3 separate regions of the Homo sapiens genome follow, and regions 2 and 3 are each linked to region 1. The links are contacts of gene promoters, found by promoter capture Hi-C in blood cells and fetal thymus (Javierre and others, 2016). All regions are on one chromosome and are shown on one strand. Each heading gives the region's core, a stretch centred on a gene start or on the middle of the fragment in contact. The rest is flanking DNA. Distances are from core to core; before and after follow the strand shown.

Region 1 (5,007 bases), core at 1,179-3,678:
ACAATCTATAATAATGCTAATCTACATGAATGAATCTCACAAAGTAATGTAGTACCAAGATAGGAAGCCAGTTATGAAAGAGAAAACATGCAAAACGAATCTGTGATGCTATAAATCAAGGAAGCAGTTACCCTCTGGTTGTAGGAGGGGTGGTGATGCAGGTAATAACTGGAAGATGGTCCAAGTGCAGCTTCTATGGTGTGATATAGTGGATGTGAAGGCCATTGGTACTGGCAAACTTCTTAAAAATCCAGATAGATGAAATAAAAATGATATATGAAGATTTTTTGGCAACCGTTTTAGGTTCAGCCATCTAGGCGGTTATGAAGGGAATGGAATTATAGCAGGGGAGATTATGTGTTTAAAATGACACACTACGTGTAAGATATTGTGCTTGACGAAGAGAAGTCATTCAACAAATATATACGAAGAATCTTTTTCTTTTTTTTTTTTGAGACAGAGTCTCACTCTGTCGCCAGGCTGGAGTGCAGTGGCGCGATCTCGGCTCACCGCAACCTCCGCCTCCCAGGTTCAAGCAATTCTCCTGCCTCAGCCTCCCAAGTAGCTGGGACTACAGGTACGTGCCACCATGCCTGGCTAATTTTTGTATTTTTAGTAGAGACAGGGTTTCACCATGTTGGCCAGAATGGTCTCGATCTCTCGACCTCGTGATCCGCCCGCCTCGGCCTCCCAAAGCGCTGGGTTCACAGGCGTGAGCCACCGCACCTGGCCTTATTTTATTTTTTTAAAGCTATCTCCTACAGGAAGGAAAGCATAATTTTTCACATTTACTTTTATTTATTTATTTATTGAGACAAACTCTCGTTCCGTCGCCCAGGCTGGAGCGCAGTGGCACTCTCGGCTCACTGCAACCTCCGCCTCCTGGGTTCAAGCGATTCTCCTGCCTCAGCCTCCAGAGCAGCTGGGATTACAGGCGCCCGCCACCACGCCCGGCTAATTTTTGTATTTTTAGTAGAGATGGGGTTTCAACATGTTGGCCAGGCTGGTCTTGAACTCCTGAGTTCAAGTGATCCGCCCCGTCTCAGCCTCTCAAAGTGCTGAGATTACAGGCTTGTGCCACCTCGCTCAGCTGGAAGGCATAATTTTTAAAGTGGTTATGACAGAAATTATATTGGAAAGGGGCCTGTAGTAGAAACATAGCCTCCGGGTAGACCAGGAAGAAAAATTAGATTCAGAAATGGCAGGGTTACTCTTTCAGCTTTACTCTTCTCCAACTGGGTGTCGGTGCTAGTCTACAAATGTGAATAAACATTAAAGCAGATAGGTATGCATGCCGGAATCCGAGAAGCATTCGTTTCGTATATACCAAGTGCCTGTTGCGTGTTCAGGTAGAAGACCATAGTGCAATGGTGGAGACAGATTATGTCGACAAATTATTCAAATACAGTGTACTAAATATGCAATGTAATTAGGAAAAAACCCGAGGGCAAAAAGAAAGGCATGACAATGCTTCGGGGAATCTGGAAAGGTTTTATTGGTGTGACATTTAAGTTGGGCCTTGAAGGATGGGGAGAAGTTTGTCAGTTATGTTTAGGAATGCAACCAGAGGAAGCCCAGAAGCCTAGAGCGTTAAGGAATTGCGCAGCAACTCAGACTGGATTGAGTATTGGGCTGTGTTTGTCAGATGCAATAACAGAATGAGAGGCTAGGAAGGCAGGTCGGGGGCTGGAGAGAACAGGATCTGCAAGGTTCTTGTAATCAGAAGGCAATATGGCACAGAGGTTAAGAGAACCGCTTCCTTCTAAGTCGCGCTCCATCACTTGCTAGCAGTATGATCTAGACACTGGCATGGGCTTGGGCGTACCCATTTGCAACATGGGAAAATAGTTTTTTTCTTATACGGCTTAAATGACTGAGTGGGTATCAGTCAGTTAGGGCAGCGTGCAGCTCATATTAAGGCTAAATGAGAATGTATTATCATCACGAAGCCAAACCACGCCAAAGCTCGTTTCTAGGAGGGTCCCCCAGCCTCCTCCCCCCTGCTACTGTTTGGGAAGAGAAAAGTTCTCTCGGGTCAGGCCGCGCCCACTCCCCACTCCTCCGCCCTCCTAGGCCTCCGACTTTCTTCAGCGAGCAGGGCCCGGCCAGGGAGTGGGTAGATGGGCCTGGTGGGCAGCGGAGACGCCGCCGCTTACCAGGGCTCGGGTCCCGCTCTTCGTCCTCCGCTGTTCCGCGGGCCTTGAAGCCGGGCGGCAGGGCCGGTCCGATCAGGTCTCTTGCCATCCGCGGTGGCGGACACTGGTCACAGATATGAGTCTATCCACGAACGTCAACCCTATCCAAAAAGAATCCCGCGATCAGCAGCGAAGAATGGCAGGTTTCCCGGCGCCGAGAAATGACGTAAAGCCTGTGGTTGGCTGAGCCTTGTAGTTCACGGTAAAGGAAGTGACGCCTAATGCTTGCTCCACAGTCGCGTGCTAGACTCCGGACCCGCCAGTGGTATGGCTGAGCCGACTAGTGATTTCGAGACTCCTATCGGGTGGCATGCGTCTCCCGAGCTGACTCCCACGTTAGGGCCCCTGAGCGACACTGCCCCGCCGCGGGACAGCTGGATGTTCTGGGCAATGCTGCCGCCACCGCCACCACCACTTACGTCCTCGCTTCCCGCAGCCGGGTCAAAGCCTTCCTCTGAGTCGCAGCCCCCCATGGAGGCCCAGTCTCTCCCCGGGGCTCCGCCCCCCTTCGACGCCCAGATTCTTCCCGGGGCGCAACCCCCCTTCGACGCCCAGTCTCCCCTTGATTCTCAGCCTCAACCCAGCGGCCAGCCTTGGAATTTCCATGCTTCCACATCGTGGTATTGGAGACAGTCTTCTGATAGGTTTCCTCGGCATCAGAAGTCCTTCAACCCTGCAGGTAGGCTATTTTTCCACGTGAGTCGACCCCTTTACCTTTTTCCCCCGTTCTTTCCTCTCCCCTTTCTCTGCTTCCTCTCTCTACTCTGCCTTGCCTCTGCACTCTTGGAGTCTGGTCATTAGCATCTCAAAGCAAAGTGAGACCCCCGTCTCTACAAAAAAAATAAAATTAGCCAGGCATGGTGGCATGCCTGTGGTCGCAGATGCATGGGAGGCTGAGGCAGGAGGATTCCTTGAACCCAGGAAGTCGAGGCTGCTTTATCAACTAAGTTTATATAATATTGTAAATCCTTTGTTCTCAAAATATGTCTGACTAGAATGTTTTCCTGTTGACTGTTAATTCCATTTAGCAGTTATTTATTGAATTCCGACTATGTACCAGAATCTGGGTATATAGCAGTGAGCAGAACATACAAAAAATATTATGGAGCTTAATATTATCTCTCTTGTGTAGGAAGACAGACAATAAGCAAAATAAAATATTGTGCATTAGAAGGTTGAGTGGCATGGAGAGAGATAAAACAAAGAAGAATGGTAAGTAGTGCAGGATTTTCTTTTTTTCTTTTTTTTTGGAGACAGAGTGTCGCTCTGTCGCCCAGGCTGGAGTGAAGAGTAGCGCGATCTACTTCACTCCAGCCTATGCAGTCTCTGCAGAGAGGCTCACTGCAACCTCTGCCTCCCGAGTTCAAGCAATTCTCATGCCTCAAACTCCTGAGTAGCTGGGACTACAGGCCCACGCCACCACACCCGGCTAATTTTTTATATTTTTAGTAGAAAGGGGGTTGCCCCGTGTTGGACAGGCCTGTCTCTAACTCCTGAGCTCAGGCATCCGCCCGCCTCAGCCTCCCAAAGTGTTGGGATTACAGGCATGAGCCACCACGCCGGGCCAGGTAGTGCAGTTTTAAATGTCATTGTTAGTCATAAGGAAGGTGACATATGAGCGAAGACTTTAGGGAGGTGAGAGATCACAGCCATGCATACAACTGGGAGAATAGGGGTACGGGCAGAAGGAACTGCAAGTGCAAAGGTCTTGAGGCTTAGAAGCTATACATCAGAATGGGAACCAGTGTGGCTACAGAGGACTGAGTCTGGAGTATAATTGTAGAAGATGGGGGAGGAGGGTAAGACCTGGTATGTCTTTGTAGATCGTGGGACTTTGACTTTTACTGTTGTGAGGTGGGTAGTACAGCGGATTGACATGACCTGATTTACGTTTTAAGAGGATTAATGTGTCTGTTGGTGAGAACTGACTGAAAGGGAAACCGGTTAGGAAGCTATTGTAGTTACTTTTCTAAACAAGAGATATTGGAGACTTGGACCAGGGTGAAGCCCAAGGGATGGTGAGAAGTAGTTGGATTCTAGATCTGGGGATACCTTGGAGCTCTTGTGGGTTCAGTTACAGACCACTGCAGTAAAGCAAGTCACACAATTATTTTTTTTTTGGTTTTCCGTTGCATGTAAAAGTATGTTTTCCTGCAGATCCTATGGGGCAAAAAAGTTATTTTTACATTATACCATAGTCTAGTAAGTGTGCAATACCATTATGTCTTAAAAAACAACTTACATACCTTGATTAAAAAATACTTTAGGCTGAGCAGGGTAGCTCACACCTATAATCTGGGCACTTTATTTATTTTTTTTTTTAATTTGTTGAGACAGAGTCTCTGTTGCTCAGGCTGGAGTGCAATGGCGTGATCTTGGCTCATTGCAACCTCCACCTCCCAGGTTGAGGTGATTCTCCTGCCTCAGCCTCCCGAGCAGCTGGTACTACAGGTGCCCGCCACCATGCCTGGCTAATTTTTGTATTTTTAGTAGAGACAAGGTTTCACCATGTTGGCCAGGCTTATCTCGAACTCCTGACCTCAAGTGATCCATCCTCCTTGGCCTCCGAAAAGTGCTGAGATTACAAGCGTGAGCCACTGCACCCAGCCTAATCTTAGCACTTTGAGAGGCAGAGGCAAGAGGATTGCTTGAGCCCAGGAGTTTGAGACCTGCCTGGGCAACAAAGTGAGACCCCCGTCTCTACAAAAAAAATAAAATTAGCCAGGCGTGGTGGAATGCCTGTGGTCCTAGAAGCATGGGAGGCTGAGGCAGGAGGATTCCTTGAGCCCAGGAAGTCGAGGCTACTTTATCA
Region 2 (5,007 bases), core at 2,343-4,842, 2.0 Mb after region 1:
ATTAGGCAGTGGCCTAGTGAGTAGAAGAGATAAGGGGCTAAAGTACTTGGCTAAATAGGGATAGGGGCCCAGGACCCTCCCCACTCACCTCTGCTTCTCTCCACCAGCCACTACTATAGAAAAACGCACCCAAGAACAACTCCAGTAAAAGGCCAGCCCTTATTTTCGCCCAAATGCACACACCTACGGTGAAAGAATGGATGATACACAAGTAGCCCATTCTCGGGCATCCAAAAGGAGCCTGTAGATGTCTGTTGCCATAATAAATCACATTCACTTTTTTTTGTTGTTGTTGTTGAGACGGAGTCTCGCTCTGTCACCCAGGCCGGAGTGCAGTGGCATGATTTCGGCTCACTGCAAGCTCCGCCTCCCGGGTTCACGCCATTCTCCTGCCTCAGCCTTCGGAATAGCTGGAACTACAGGCGCCCACCACCACGCCCGGCTAATTTTTTGTATTTTTAGTAGAGACAGGGTTTCACCGTATTAGCCAGGATGGTCTCGATCTCCTGACCTCGTGATCCGCCTGCCTCGGCCTCCCAAAGTGCTGGGATTACAGGTGTGAGCCACCGCATCCAGCCTCACATTCACATTTTTTAAAACACTTTGAGAATGTGGCAAAACAAGAAGTGAATGGAGTGAGAAATCTCAGGTAAAACAAGAAGTGAATGGAGTGAGAAATCTCAGGTTTGAAACTTTGGTGTGACATGTGGTTGTGTTGTGAAACAAATATGGTTAACTAAGTATATTCTTGAGGCCAACATCCCTATTACTAGCTCCTTTAGGAGAATCAGTTTTCCCCCAGTGTGGGTTTTCCCTTCCTCAAACTTTAAATTTCATCCAACCACCAAAATAATTTTCTCCTTTGAAACAAGAGTTCCAGGGGTATTTTCCTAGTAAAGAACAATGTGGAAGATGGCCTCCAGAAAGGCCCTGCTGTTCCTCTTTTTTGTTGATCTCTAGGTCTGCGTTTCTCACCCCGCTGGTACCTTACACCCAACAGCACCTAAACAGACTTTTAGAACTTCCCTCAAAGCTTGTCCCTCCTCTAGGTTAATGGTTCTACCTCGTATCCAGTCACAAAGCTAAAAGTCACCATAAAGACAGCAACCATTAAATTACTGGGGCTATAAGGTAGGCATACTGTGAAGATCAGGATTTTTCAACTTCAACACTGTTGACACGTGGGGCAGGACAACTCTTTGTCATGTGGGCCTATTCTGTGCATTGTAGGATGTTTAGGAGCATCCCCGGCCTTTACACACTAGATGCTAGCAGCACCTACCCACTTTGAGGCTTCACAATCAAAAATATGTCCAGGCATTGCCAGATGTCTGCTAGAGGAAAAATCAACTCCATTTGAGAACCACTGATGTGGATGATCTCTATTCCTCACAATACCCACATGAGGCAGAGGAGGAAACTGGATCTCTGAGGAATTAAGAGATTTGGCCTTGGTTGTGTGGCCAGTATGTGGCAAAGCTGGTCTCAAAGCACTATAAAAGCCATCTCCCCTTCTCTCTGCTGCCTTCCAGTACTCAATTCTCTCTTTCATCTAGTTTTTATCTATGCTAATCTCTCATGTGAAATGTCTTTTATGTTTTATTTATTTGTTTTGTAGAGATGAGGTCTTACCATGCTGCCCAGGCTGGCCTTAAACTCCTGGCCTCAGGTGATCCTCCTGCCTCAGCCTCCAAAAGTGCTGGGATTACAGGCATGAGCAACTGAGCCTGGCCCATGTGAAATGTCTTGATTTTGCTCCCCACTTTCTGGGTTGCCTTAGCTCAGATCTGTATTTCTTACCTAGACGTAACTAGGCTCTGAATTTATCTTCCCGATTTCAGTCTCTTCATCTTTCAATCTCCGTTTTCACATTGTTAGAAGCTAACTTTGTAAAACAGATATTATTGAGTAACTGCCCTATTGAAAAACTTCCTGTGCCTTCCACATTGCCTACAACAGTGGTTCCCAAAGGGTGATCCTGAGACTGGCATCATTGGTATCACCTGGAAATTTGTTAGAAATGCAAATCCTTGGGCCCCATCCCAGACCTGAATCAGAAACTATATATATATATTTTTGAGATGGAGTCTCTCTCTGTCGCCCAGGTGGAGGTGGGGTTTCGCCACGTTGGCTAGGCTGGTCTTCAACTCCTGATCTCCAGGTAATCCTCCTGCCTCGGCCTCCAAAAGTACTGGAATTACAGGAGTGAGCCACCGTGCCTGGCCATAAATCTGTTTTAACGCACCCTCCTCCAAGTGGTTCTGATGCTTACTGAAATTTGTGAAACTCTGGCCTACTCTACAAAACCCTAATGTCTTAGGATGGCATAGAAATCCTGACTGACTTTCCTACCATGTTCCTTGTCATTATTTTCTCCTCTCCTGTCCCACCCTGGCCCACCCTTCAATTTCATTCTTTCATTAGCTATCAAACCTGTATGTGTCTTTTTGTTCTAAGCACCAATAATATAAGGAAGACAGTCCAGCTCCTAACTGTCTTGCTGACCTAGGACTGGGGTGCTCCAGCCACATGACAACCCCTGGAATTAAGTACACACCATGTCATTTTAAGTGACAAGCCTCTGCCATAGCATCTCCTTCTTCTTGGTGAATTCCTATGTCTTTGGTGGCTCATTCTCAAATGTCCCTGTTCCTGAATTACTCAGAGGGCTAATCCCCAGTTTCTCTGTGCCTCCACAGCTGCCTGTCATTTCATTTATCCCAAAGTGGCATTCCCATTTGTTTACCTGTCTACTAGGATACTCCTAGAATGCAGGTAGCATGAGGGAAGAGCCTTCACTCATCTTTGTGTAGACGGCATTGTGACCCTGGTGACCAACCCTGGCACACATCAGAATCATCTGGGAGCTTTTCAAAAATATGAATGCCAGAGCTCACCCCTGAACCTACAGGAACTGAGCCTTACACATCCATATTTTAAAATGTCCCCACATCACCGTTGCACACTGTTCTGCACAGAGCAGGTATTTTTAATAGTTCTCGAATGTCTAGTCAATTACTTAGCAAGGCTGCCTGGAGAATCATGTCTACCTTAGCTTACTTCTCCGGCTTTGTAGGTTTTTGTTTTCTTTTGATTTCAGTTTCCATTTCCTCTAACTTGAAAGTATGTGCATTGGTAACAGCCACACAGCAGTCATTACTGATAAAAGGCGACATTTTGTTGAGATGATTTTAGTTATTGACCTAATCTCTGGTATTTTAAGGTTAATATATTTTTTACAGTCTCAAATATCCAGCGGTAACCTCAAATTAGAGTTGCCTGTTAAACAGTTTCTCAAGTATCTTTCAGGATTGTAGTCACTCTGCGGGCTAATCGCTCACCAGGTGTCCGTGGCTGATCCCAGTTATTCTGATTAACCTCTAAGGTGATTGTGAGACTTTAAACCGTCTCACCTGTAGCCGACCAAGCCAGCTCAAGTCAACATCCTGGGCTGTTAACCCGCGATAAGGTCGGACGGGGCCTCAGTGGAGAATACGTGGGGAAGTTCTCTGGGGCGGGCGCAGTCTGCTGCTGATTCTGAGAAACCGAAACTCAGCTGTTAAAACCGCTGCCTCTGCACTTTGGAATCCCATCTTGAGACTCGCTAAGCGTCCCAGCCGCATCCCTCCCGCAGCGACGGCGGCCCGGGACCCGCGGGCTGTGAACCATGAACACCCGCAATAGAGTGGTGAACTCCGGGCTCGGCGCCTCCCCTGCCTCCCGCCCGACCCGGGATCCCCAGGACCCTTCTGGGCGGCAAGGGGAGCTGAGCCCCGTGGAAGACCAGAGAGAGGGTTTGGAGGCAGCCCCTAAGGGCCCTTCGCGGGAGAGCGTCGTGCACGCGGGCCAGAGGCGGTGAGTATTTTAACAACCTGGCTTCGGGGCGGGAGCCCGGGCCCCAAACATACTCACTCACAAGCACCTTGGTCCTTGGAGTTTAAAACCACAGGGGCCCAACAACAGGGATTTTGACTGAATGAAAGCTCATTTGCTTAAATGAAAGTATCCATGCCGCACCTTATAAATTGAGTCGGCTAGTTTGCAGTCCTTTGGTAAATAACCAGCCCGGTTCCTTCCAGGAATACTACTTTCCTGATTTTTGTGACTGGCTACAGGATTGAAAGATATGGGTGTGTCGGAACTGCCTAGGCATCCAGTAAGATGTCATTTTCCAGGTATCTCCAGAACTCATACTCCAACCAGTATGGAAATAACTTTTCCCTTACTGTTTTTAAAAATTTGGTGCTGGGCCAGGCGCGTTGGCTCAAGCCTGTTATCCCAGCACTTTGGGAGGCCAAGGCAGGCAGATCACCTGAGGTCAGGAGTTCGAAACCAGCCTGGCCAACATGGTGAAACCCAGTCTTTACTAAAAATAAAAAATAAGCTGGGTGTGATGGCACGTGCCTGTAGTCCCAGCTACCTGGGAGGCTGAGGTAGGAGAATCGCTTGAACCCGGGAGGCGGAGGTTGCAGTGAGCGGAAATTGCGCCATTGCACTCCAGCCTGGGCAACAGAGCGAGACTGTCTCAAAACAAAACAAAACAGAAAAACAAAACTTGGTGTCCTAAACGGAATTACTGTATCAGACACTAACAGGTAAGGGTCAACAAGAAATGTGATATGGGGTAGAAGGTTCAAATTCTGCCTCTAGGTAGGAGCAAGCCTACGTCCCAGCAAGACTCGCAGATAAACTAGCCTCTTACAACCAGAGGAGTGGAGCTGAGAGAGTGAGGAGGTGAGTGACCATAGTACCTCTCATCCCTGATGTTGATATGTGCTCTATGCAGGAACAGATAGGTAGCTTTTATTCCTGGTCTTTGGTTCAGGGACTGCAGTGAGTATCCGGGAAACATTTATTAAGCAAGTGTCATGAGCCTCTCTTTCTAGCCAATGGAATGAACTTTAACTCAACAGTATGGTTTATCACAACATCACTGCCTTTGAAGTGCTGCCTCTGTGAATTGGAACTGTCCAGATGGTTTTATTTTTAGTCTCTCCTTTTTCATCG
Region 3 (5,007 bases), core at 1,188-3,687, 1.6 Mb before region 1:
AAGTGAGCTCATAAATAAAAACCTGCAAAACTCACAACTTAAGCTTGCCATAAACAAGCCAACAAGAACACTTTCAGCATCCACTTCACATGGCGAGGTCTTAGCTAAAAGATGTGATCCCTAAAAGCACTGGTCTTCTCAAAGAAATGCCAACACAGCAGACACATCAAGTTCACCTAACTTTGTAAATAATCCTTAGCATAACTGAAGTAGAACAACTATGAAGCCCCCTTACTGAACTACACAAACCTATTATTATTAGTCATGCCAGCTCTATTTTCTGCAGATATAGCCAACCATAGCATAGCTAGCTCACGGTACACTCTATAGCAGAAGGGAAGTAAAATTTAATGTAGTTTTTTAAGTCAGTGATTCAGGCAATTCTTGGAATAAGTTCCACTTGAGAAGATGTAACTAAGAGGTCTTATTGAAAGACACTCCCCAGCTGTTGACAGCTCAACTTTGGAAATTCCCTCTTTTTTGCCGATTCCTGACTATCCCTAAATCCAAATTACAAAGTTTAATGACCCTGGAGAGCCATCTTTGCCTCCAGTGAACTCAGAACTGTATCTAAATATTCATTAAGGCTCTAGATAAATGTTTATTGAATTAAAAGGGGGAAAAGACACTGGAAACCTAGCCTCCAAAAACCCACTGCCTGCTCCCTTGCCCACTACAAGATTAAACTGGGTGCTCCTGTGATGAGAGTCAACCCATCCAAGACCCAGGGGGTCTGACCCTGGGCCATGAGGCGATGACAGCCAAGAGGTCTGGGCAGCGGCTCCAAAACGGAGCACCCACTGCCCTGGGAAATGTTGGGCGCTTGCTATGACACAAACCCTCCCCCAGGGAGCGGAACCGGATGGCCGGAAACCAAGTCAGTTCTGTATAGACCCTAAGGCCCCAATCCTATTCCACCACCCTCCTTCCTGTTTATAGATCCCGCTCCTGGAACTCCAACTACCAAAGAGAAAGCAGACGTTTTAGAAGTATGTAACACATGACGTAACTTGAAAAAGTTATGCTGCTTATTGGCGCGAGTTACAACTTGCCGGGCTCACACAGGAAAACAGGCTCACGTTAATTACTTTGCCTTTAATATGCCACGCCGTCCTTTCCTGGGGCCCCCGCAACGGTTGGGTAACTGAGAACCAGGTAGCCTCGGTGGTAGGACCCAAACTGTGTGGGCGGTGAGCAAAAGGCACGGAAGGAAGAGGGCCGATCGCTTCCGAAGCGGCAGCCGACTGGGATTCACTACAAGCCCGGCGGCTCTTTTCCCGCACAAGCGCAGGGAGAGGAAACTTGGGCACCTCACAGGCGGCACCGAGTTGCCCGATCGCTCGGCGATGTCGCCGAGGGGGCTCGCGGCACTGCGCCGATGCCCCTGGCTCGGCCGAGGGCGTGCCACCTTTGTCTGGGTTTCCCCACCAGGATGGGCTACGCCTCGATGCAAAGACGGCTTGAACTGGTTGGAGGCGCCGACGCCGCTGTCCGCGCTGGAGTTCCCAGCCCTGCGCGGGGCCCAGGAAGCCGACACAGCCGCCTGAAACCTCCCACTTACACTGCGCGCACGCGGCGCGCCTGCAAGTCCCAGCCCCGCGGTTACTTCCCTGGCGCGGCAGCCACAGGGTGGAGAGCCGGAGACCCCTCGCTCTCAGGCGCAGAGGCCCGGCGCACCCCTGCCCTCCTGGCACTGCATCGCCGGACCAGGCAGGGCCCCCGTGCCCTCTCCAGGGCCCGCTTCTTCCGCGCCCACGCGAGTCCCTTCTTCGGGAGACAACGGGCCGATGGACCCTCCCTCCCCCAGCAAGACAAGATCTCCGACTGTCCACCGCGTTAGGGAACGCACGACAGACACCCAGACAGCACCCACACCCCTGCCCGCCCCTCGGCCCTCACTCACCTGCCTGCACCGTGTCCGAGAGGTCGTGCCCGGGGGCTGCGGTACGGGGAAATTCCTTCAATTTCCTGGCGCTCAGGTTCAGCCCCCCGGAGTTGGCCGCCTCCTCAAGCGCGCGCTCCAGACCCCGGTTCAAGGGCAGGTTGAAGCCCCCGCTGCCACCGCCGCCACCACCCGCCCCGCCGGGGGCGCCGGTTCCTCCGTGGTGCTGATGGTGGTGGTGGTGGTGGTGGGGATGATGAAGTGGGTGCAGAGTAGCTACCGAAAGGGCCGGGACGAAAGGTTGGGGTTCGCTTCCCGGCGTCGCCATCTTCTCCCGGGCCCCCCCACCCCGCCCCGCCGCTCCTGCGGGGGGGTCACAGCGTTCCCCGCGAGGGGAAAACGGCAGCTCGGGCTGAGTGCCGCAGTGCTCCACCGAAAGGCGCTGGAAGGAGGGGAGGAGGGTGTGGGCAGGCGCGTAGAATGGGGGGCGGGCGGGGAGGCGGCCGTGGCAGCTCGGTCTTGAAGGTTTCCTGTCCCCGGGAAGCTAAGGACTGCGGCGGCGGCGGCGGCGGCGGCAGCGCGCATGTGTCTCCTCCCGCCCCTGCGCCCTCCCCCCGGCTGCTCTGCCCTCCTCCGCCGTCTGCTCTCTCCTCCTCCTTCCCCCACGCAGTCTGCCCCGCCTGAGCCTTCCTCCGCGCCTATTCTGCCGGCCGCCGCCGCCTTGCCGCGATCCGCCCCGCAATCGGGTACACGGCGGGGCTGGACGTCTGCTCCGGGGCAACTGAGGCGCCGAACCTCTCTCTGGGCGTCCTTTTGCCGCCCAGGAGGCTTTAGGGGACTGGAGGTTGCGGGGATAGGGGGGTGGTCTGAGAACACGGATAAAACGGCGGGAGGCAATGAATGGGATTTACAGTACAGTGAGGTTTGGGGCAGGAGAGGGTTCTCTCAATTCTGCGATTTATTCTGGCCGTTTAACCCAGAGATCCCCAAGAGGCAGTTTTCATTCACTATGGGGTCATCCCTGCAGATGCCCCCTGGCATTTGGGCGCTTACAATGAACCAGACGCTTGTTTAGGGAGTCTACGTAAGTTACCTCATTAATCCAGGGACCCCAGGAGTGCCAAAGTTGTTCCCCTGAGTCTACAGAGGAAGTTAATAAATGTATCTAAGGTCACCCCTGCAGTTAGAGGGGCGCTAGATTCGAGCTAGGGCCCTCAGAATCTAGGGTTGCCCTCCTTCACAGTGTACCCCTGGGCCAGACGCCAGCGCCAAGGGACGAATACGAGTGGGACAGAGTGTTTGCTGAGCGGCAGAAGAAAGCTACAGACATAGGAAAGAAAAACTCAAAATGAGGGCAGTGTTTATGGGGGACAGAAGACATTGTCGTAGGAGAAAGATGAGCTGGCTGCTCCCCGAAATTGGGTGGTGCCAGGAGAGGCTAGAAAGCCAGTGACCCCAAACAGCAAATCAGTCACAGCTCGAGTCTGAGCTGAAAGAACCATCGAAGTCTCCTTGTGCCCTTCTTCTTCCCGCTTTGGGGCATGGAAACGAACATGTCCGCTTGCAAGTGAATTCACATTCTGCCATCAGCCACCCAGTGGCACCCAGGCCAATGCTGGCACACCAGGGGCGACAGAGAACATCTGACACCCTAAGGGCAGACCAGCTGGACGATTAATAGAATACCATTCCTTTCCTGAAGTTAAAGCTTCATGTCCAACTTTCCAGGGCCTTTATTTTTGCTCTATTCTTAAGGCTTGATTGTCCCCTATGAGCGACTTGGCTTGGGGAAAATGAGTCGGGGGGTGGGTGCGGGGTTGTCGGGGTGTCAAGCACGAAAGTAATGCAACCCTTGGAGTAGGGGAGCTGGTTTTTTAAGTGGTAATACATAAGTTTGATGGCCTAGACAACAGGCTGGAACTGGTGACTTCATGGACTCGGCACTTAAGTATGGCATGATCTGTGTCACTTGAATTGACTGCACAGATAGTTGCCCTTAATTCCTGCGGGATTCTTGGCCCTGAGCAAAGCATTCTAATCTGCCCGGAGGAGACACGCGCCACCTGCTGGTATCCTCCCGCAAACCTCCCCTCTCACATGCCATTCGCCGCAGCCTTCCAGGCTTTTAAAAGTCCGGCTTCAAAATTCATAATAATAACGACAATAATAATAAATGAAAGTATACTTCCATCACAAAAAAGTAACCAAATTTCCACTTTCCTCCAGGGAGAGGAACAGAGAAAAACAAAATCCAGTGAAAAACAGAAACACAGAAAAAAATCCAATTAAAAGAATCTTCAGCTGAAACCAGGTGGTAGTCTGTGTGATCAGCAGTCAGGACATGATTTGGGACATCTTCTGGCTGACTGCAAATTTAGTTCAGACTAAGAGTCGTTGTGATGCATCATAGGAAGCATACATATTTTTTTAAAAGACCACTAATTCTTCTTTAAAGAAAATAATGGATTGCATATGAGCCCACGATTTGCTTTTTAACAAATGATCAGTCCCTCTGTTAGATTGACCTACTCATTGTGGTTTGTTTACCCATCTACAGATTACTAAACTGTAAATTCCATGAAATAGGGACCTATTCATCTTTGCAACTCTCTCCCCATGCCTCAGAATCGAGGGGAGTACTTTGTATATAATGAGTGCACAATTAATATTAGTAATCAATTAAGTATTGCATAATAGACCATGTGTTTAACAGGTTTGCCACCTGTTGATATGTCCTTTTTTATTTGTATAAATTTATGGGGTACTTGTTGATACATCTTTAAAGTTTCAAATGATTTCCCTGAATGAAGGAGTTTTTCTTAAAATGGGAGAGAGTACTTGACCCTTGAAAATGATCTTGATTATTTCTAAATATTAAAGAAACTCGACAAGCCATTTCCCCTTGCTGTCTTGCTTCTTCACTATTTCTTCAAGAAGATGGACATCTCTCTTTTGTTTAATACCCTGTTTACTTATTCTGAAAACAGCACCCTTTTGCTATTAAGGGCAGGAATCAGGCCCTTTTAAAAAAATCCGCTGCCTGGAAGATTCAACAAATAATGTTGTCTGGCTGAGATATTTGATGCAACTAGTAACATCAACATGAATTTCTCTGAAGATAAATA

The links. The method cuts DNA at HindIII sites, captures the fragments that hold promoters and counts their contacts. A CHiCAGO score of 5 or more calls a contact.
Region 2: a contact is called between the fragment with the promoter of EPSTI1 here and the fragment with the promoter of NUFIP1 in region 1, in 3 of 17 cell types (naive CD8 T cells, activated CD4 T cells and naive CD4 T cells). The highest score is 13.7, in naive CD8 T cells.
Region 3: the fragment with the promoter of LRCH1 here is called in contact with the fragment with the promoter of NUFIP1 in region 1 in 3 of 17 cell types (naive CD8 T cells, activated CD4 T cells and total CD4 T cells); the score reaches 11.4 in naive CD8 T cells.

Annotation. Positions count from the first base shown.
Region 1 is chr13:44,986,892-44,991,898 of GRCh38, reverse strand. It overlaps NUFIP1 (nuclear FMR1 interacting protein 1), which reads left to right and starts at 2,428. Exons shown (of 10, transcript NM_012345.3): 1 at 2,428-2,874. The coding sequence starts at 2,463. It overlaps GPALPP1 (GPALPP motifs containing 1), which reads right to left and starts at 2,361. Exons shown (of 8, transcript NM_018559.5): 1 at 2,157-2,361. The coding sequence starts at 2,244. RefSeq lists enhancers at 1,615-2,251, 2,178-2,367, 2,558-2,627, 2,252-2,890. The HindIII fragment of the contact is 7,208 bases long and covers 1-5,007 here.
Region 2 is chr13:42,990,826-42,995,832 of GRCh38, reverse strand. It overlaps EPSTI1 (epithelial stromal interaction 1), which reads left to right and starts at 3,592. Exons shown (of 11, transcript NM_033255.5): 1 at 3,592-3,855. The coding sequence starts at 3,668. RefSeq lists enhancers at 2,959-3,198, 3,459-3,578. The HindIII fragment of the contact is 6,494 bases long and covers 1,036-5,007 here.
Region 3 is chr13:46,550,600-46,555,606 of GRCh38, reverse strand. It overlaps LRCH1 (leucine rich repeats and calponin homology domain containing 1), which reads right to left and starts at 2,437. Exons shown (of 20, transcript NM_001164211.2): 1 at 1,904-2,437. The coding sequence starts at 2,210. RefSeq lists enhancers at 1,304-1,623, 1,280-1,980 and silencers at 2,184-2,243, 2,304-2,493. The HindIII fragment of the contact is 3,547 bases long and covers 46-3,592 here.